2 separate regions of the Homo sapiens genome follow, and region 1 is linked to region 2. Evidence: promoter capture Hi-C in 16 types of primary human blood cells and fetal thymus (Javierre and others, 2016). All regions are on one chromosome and are shown on one strand. Each heading gives the region's core, a stretch centred on a gene start or on the middle of the fragment in contact. The rest is flanking DNA. Distances are from core to core; before and after follow the strand shown. Region 1 overlaps GON4L (gon-4 like). Region 2 holds the start of RIT1 (Ras like without CAAX 1).

Region 1 (3,037 bases), core at 164-2,663, 110 kb after region 2:
GGGGAAGAAATATTGATCAGATAAAAGTTTGGATGGAAACAGACTAAGTAGGCTGGGCGTGGTGGCTCACACCTATTATCCCAGCTCTTTGGGAGGCCGAGGCGGGCGGATCACAAGGTCAAGAGATTGAGACCATCCTGGCCAACAGGGTGAAACCCTGTCTCTACTAAAAATAAAAAAATTTGCTGGGCGTGGTGGTGCACGCCTGTAGTCCCAGCTACTCAGGAGGCTGAGGCAGGAGAATCACTTGAACCTGGCAGGCGAAGGTTGTAGCGAGCCGAGATTGCGCCACTGCGCTCCAGCCTGGCAACAGAGCGAGACTCCATCTCAAAAAAAAAAAAAAAAGAAAAAGAAATAGACTGAGTAAATGGCTGGGTAGGTAATGCTAGGAGTAAGTCAGGATAAGTGAATGAAAGAAAATAACAGGTCCTTGAATGTACCTTATGATACTATTAATAGTTATATAGTATATCATTTGGCAAATGTTTGAGTACTTTCTTTATACAAGGCATTGTGCTAGAATCTGTGAGGGATAAAGGAGCATAATCATTTGGTCATGGAATAAAAGCTTTATGAATGACAGGGTGCCTGGCCCATTGTTAGGTTCACAATACATTGTACTTTTTTGTGTGTGTGTGAGACAGGGTCTCACTCTGTCACCCAGGCTGGAGTGCAGTGGTGAGATCTTAGCTCACTGCAGCCTTGACCTCCTTGGCGCAAGCAATTCTCCCACCTCAGCCTTCTAAATAGCTGGGAATACAGGTTTGTGCCATCATGCCCGGCCAATTTTTGTATTTTTTGTAGAGTTGGGGTTTTGCCATGTTGCCCAGGCTGGTCTCGAACTCCTGCGCTCAAGCGATCCTCCTGCCTCTGCTTTCCAAAGTGCTGAGATTACAGGAGTGAGCCATCGCGCTCAGCCAGTATATTGTAAATGAATGAAGTTGTTGAATAAACTCAGATATGCCATCAAAGTGGCATAAATGCTGTTGTAAGATTTTAGAAGAGGACAGGGTAACTTTTGTTTAGGATGATCAGAGACAGCTACATGAAAGAGCTGGTAATTGAAATGGACCTTGGAAAGATTTTTGAAAACAGTGACAGGGAAGAGAGAAGGCATCTGAGTAGAAGTGACATGATATACTCTATATGCTGGATTCTGTAGGATATATTCTTTCCAGAGTTTTCTCTTTTTTCACTGTAAAACTGTAAGAGTAATATATGCTTGGTATAAAGAAATCAAATATTACAGAAATAAAACAATTAAAGCCTTCCCCCCCCCCAAGGAAAATGTACATATCTACATACATGAAATTTTTCATATGATTTTTTTGGGGTTTATGTATCTCTTAGAGTTTATTTATTGGCACTTCATTTTCCTACCAGTCATTTCCAAAGCCTTTGACACCAAGGTTCAAGTTTGGTTCCCCAGAGGGACTACTGATAATACTTTGGTATGCATCTGTGAGAGTTTTCAATGTGTAGTTACTTTTTAGTTTTCCACATTAATGTGGGGATAAAAATAATTAAATTTTAGTCCTAAATTTAAATTTAAGACTTTTCTCAAACATTTAGAAAAGATAGTCCAGGCGTGGTGGCTCATGCCTGTAATCCCAGTACTATGGGAAGCCAAGGCATGAGGATTGCTTGAGGCCAGGAAGTCAAGACCAGCCTGGGAAACACAGTGAGACCTCATTTCTATTTTTTTTTTCTTCGACAGAGTCTCGCTCTGTCGCCCAGACTGGAGTGCAGTGGTGTGATCTCGGCTCACTGCAACCTCTGCCTACTGGGTTCAAGCGATTCTCCTGTCTCAGCCTCCCCAGTAGTTGGGATTACATGCGCCTGCCACCTTGCCTGGCTAATCTTTGTATTTTTAGTAGAGACAGGGTTTCACCATATTGGTCAGACTGGTCTCAAACTCCTGACCTCAGGTGATCCACCCTCCTTGGCCTCCCAAAATGCTGGGATTACAGGCATGAGCCACCGCACCTGGCATTTCTATTTTTAAAATAAAATAAAATTTTAAAAAAGAGAGAGAAAATAACAAGAAGCAAATTGTTTTAAATCTTATCATATTTCTTTTTTTTACCCACCCTCTGTAGTAGAGGGGCTAACAAGCCACAAAATGAAAAAAATTGTGTAAGGAGAAAAAGATGGAGTTTGAAGCTGAGTCATTAACATGCAAAGTATAGAATCAGTTCCTTCATAATTAGCAACTGATATATTATCCCATTAGTCATTCTGATAGGAGTCTAAGCTTCTGAGTTTTCCATTACTCACCCCTTTGACAATCTGATGAAAACTATGCAGCCTTCCCCCAGAAAAAAATGTACATATCCAAATACATGAAATTTTTATATGATTTTTGGGAGATACATATCTTTTAAAGTTTATTGACACTTCCTGTTTCTACCAGGTTCAGAAATCTCCACAAAAAGGAATAGACAGGACAGAGAGTTCTTTTTTTTTTTTTTTTTTTTTTTGAGCAGCAGCAAGATTTATTGTGAAGAGTTAAAGAACAAAGTTTCCACAACGTGGTAGGGGACCCGAGTGGGTTGCCCAAGGACAGATAGTTCTAACCACTTTGTAGGCAGTGAAATCTCAGAGAAATTCATTGTCTTGCTCAAAGTTACAGAATCAATTTGTTATACTCCTAGGAGTAGAACCCAGTTTAATATTCTAGGAACATGTCTCAATCAGACAGGTTTCACGGTAAGTTAAACCTTTTTTTTTTTTTTTTTTTTTCTGAGACAGAGTCTGGCTCTGTTGCCCAAGCTAGAGTGCAGTGGCACAATCCCTGCTCACTGCAACCTCCACCCGGGTTCAAGCGACTCTTCTGCCTCAGCCTCCAGAGTAGCTGGGACTACAGGTACGCGCTACCATGCCCAGCTAATTTTTGTGTTTTTAGTAGAGATGGGGTTTCACCATATTGGCCAGGCTTGTCTCGAACTCCTGACCTTCTGTTCCACTCGCCTCAGCCTCCCAAAGTGCTGGGATTACAGGCTTGAGCCACCGCACCTGGCCTAAACCATTTTTTTTT
Region 2 (2,708 bases), core at 136-2,635:
TTATTTTTTTTTGAGATGGAGTCTCGCTCTGTCACCCAGGCTGGAGTGGAATGGTGCAATCCTGGCTCACCGCAACCTCCTGGGTTCAAGTGGTTCTCCAGCCTCAGCCTCCTGAGTAGCTGGGATTATAGGCACCTACCACCATGCCCAACTAATTTTTATATTTTTAGTAGAGACAGGGAGTCACCATTTTGGCCAGGCTGGTCTTGAACTCCTGATCCTCAAGTGATCAGCCCACTTCAGCCTCCCAAAGTCCTGGGATTACAGGCGTGAGCCAGCACTCCTGGCCAGAAAGACTTAAATTTTGAGACGGAGTTTTGCTCTGTTGCCAGGCTGGAGTGCAGTGGCACCCTCTCAGCCAGCTAACTGCAACCTCCACCTCCCAGGTTCAAGTGATTCTCCTGCCTCAGCCTCCCGAGTAGCTGGGACTTATAGGCGCATGCCACCACACCCAGCTAATTCTTTTGTATTTTTAGTAGAGACGGTTTTACATGTTGGCCAGGATGGTCTCTTATTTCTTGACCTCATGACTCACCTGCCTCGGCCTCCCAGAGTGCTGGGATTACAGGTGTGAGCCACCGCGCCCGCCCGGCCCAGAAAGACATTTAAAAAGAACAGTGGTAGGCAGAGCTGCATGAGAACAATTTTCGTGTCAGTTTCTTCTAGCACCTGTGCTACGTAAATAGAGGGGAATATGGTTATAGTGGCTGCGCTTCAGTTCTGTATTTAACTCAAGGCCTCTGTTAACTCAGAGCTCTCTTTCCTGCCAGAGTGTGGTACATTTATTTAAAACAAGTTTTTGTGTGTCTTATACGTGTTTAAAATACATACAGAACTCTGATTAGGGAGTGTTGTGAACATCTGGTTTCTGAGAATGAATTTAGGTTTCAATAGCAAAAGTCATTGTGGCCGCTCCTTTAGGAAAGTCATTTTTCTCCTATGAGTAGTCATCCCCGGTAGACTTGACTGAAATCCTGTGTTTTAGGAGGATTTGGGGGGTGCCCCTGTCCTCCCTTCCTCTCATTACATTGGGTCAAATTAGTTTTGGGTTTTTTTTTTTCCCACAAGCAGCAAACAACCCTCGGTAAGTTGTTAATTTAAGTGTCCCTGCATGTCTCTTATCACGTACTCCCTTCCCTTTTGTGTAAATAATTTACTTTCTACTCGTGATTAAATACCCTTGTCTGTGAGTGCATACACCCTAGGTTGGGTAGGTGACCAGAGGACCTTCAGCGGTGGGTCCCGGAACTGGGTTTTAGGGACCTGGGAGGGGCGGGAAGAGGGCGGGGCAGGCTGTGGGCGTCACTGAGTGGCCCCGCCCCTCCTTCCGCGACTCGGGCGCCGGTGGCGCCATCTTACTCGGTTGCGGGAGGGGTCACAGGTCAGTGCCGGAGCCTCCGCGAGTGAAGGAAGACGAAGTGCGTGACCCGACCGGCTGTGGTGTTCCAGTCCCCACTGACCAGTAGGAGCAGCAGGGCGTCGGCTTGTGAGGTAGAGGGGTGGGGAGTCTGGCGGCGGAGCAGCAGCTGGGGGTGGGGAGGGGGTTCGGAGGAGAATGGGGAGGGGGCGGAACCTCTGGGTACCGCAGACGTGAGAGAACCCCTGCGGCCTAAGGGGCCGCATCCCTTTCTTCCCAAAACTTTCTCCTTGTCCCTACTGTGCCGAGACGTAAATTTATTTGTATCTTTTTATTTTTCTCTTTGGAAAAAGTAAAACCTGTGATGTGTCATGTGACTGAACTGTCTAGGAGGGAGGGTGAAGATGGGGGGGTTTCTTAGGGCCACCCGAAAGGGTGCAGTGGTGAGCAAGAGGGACAGGCCAGAGTAAGAGGGACAGGCCAGAATATGTATGGAAAGGTAAGGCACTGGCTTGAGGGCTGTCGCCGTGGTGTCTCCATCCTGGATTAAGCATTTCCTCCTCCTTTTCTAGGTGGCTTTTCCTCGGGGCAACCGAGGAAGGCCCCAAGAGGACAATGGATTCTGGAACTCGCCCAGTTGGTAGCTGCTGTAGCAGCCCCGCTGGGCTCTCACGGGAGTACAAACTAGTGATGCTGGGTGCTGGTGGTGTAGGGAAGAGTGGTAGGTAACATTTTCCATTTGACAGGAAGCATGGATGAAAAGTACTTAAATGACCAGATGGGATACTTGCTATCTTGCAATGTTAATACTTAAAATTCTCTCTGTGGGTCACCTTTGTGAGGATTTGACTTTTATTTCTTCTTTTGAAGCCATGACCATGCAGTTCATCAGCCACCGATTCCCAGAAGATCATGATCCCACCATTGGTAAGCCAGATCATCACTTATGTTTCCAAATATACCCCATAAAAATATCTTAATGAATATCAGTAGTTTCTAACTATTTATATTTTGAGGCTTTTTTGGAGTCTAATTCAGATTTATTTAGAAACAAGGGTATCAGCAGTTGGTAAGCAACTGAATATTTCTTTTTTTTTCAGACTTTATGTCATAAGCCATCTTTAGTCTTTGTCTCTTACTGAACATTAATGGGACAACTCTCTTTGTTGTATTTTTTTATGGTTGTATACAGGCCACTTAACGAAGCCTTTTCTTGCTGTCACTTCTCTAAGGGTATGACTTGAGACTCGCTCTGTAACTGTGAGTCAGCTGGTTTGAACTTCCACAAAAGGAAGCAGAGAAACAAGTAGAGCCAGGCTGCTGAACTCTTACAACCCAGACATGCCAAGCC

The links. The method cuts DNA at HindIII sites, captures the fragments that hold promoters and counts their contacts. A CHiCAGO score of 5 or more calls a contact.
Region 1: a fragment that was not itself captured here is called in contact with the fragment with the promoter of RIT1 in region 2 in 1 of 17 cell types (endothelial precursors); the score reaches 5.3 in endothelial precursors.

Annotation. Positions count from the first base shown.
Region 1 is chr1:155,800,556-155,803,592 of GRCh38, reverse strand. All of the region lies in intron 11 of GON4L (gon-4 like), which reads left to right. Among named protein-coding and RNA genes, the nearest start is that of GON4L, 55 kb to the left of the region's middle. The HindIII fragment of the contact is 1,686 bases long and covers 571-2,256 here.
Region 2 is chr1:155,910,026-155,912,733 of GRCh38, reverse strand. It overlaps RIT1 (Ras like without CAAX 1), which reads left to right and starts at 1,385. Exons shown (of 6, transcript NM_006912.6): 1 at 1,385-1,491; 2 at 1,930-2,078; 3 at 2,228-2,284. The coding sequence starts at 1,973. The HindIII fragment of the contact is 5,298 bases long and covers 1-2,708 here.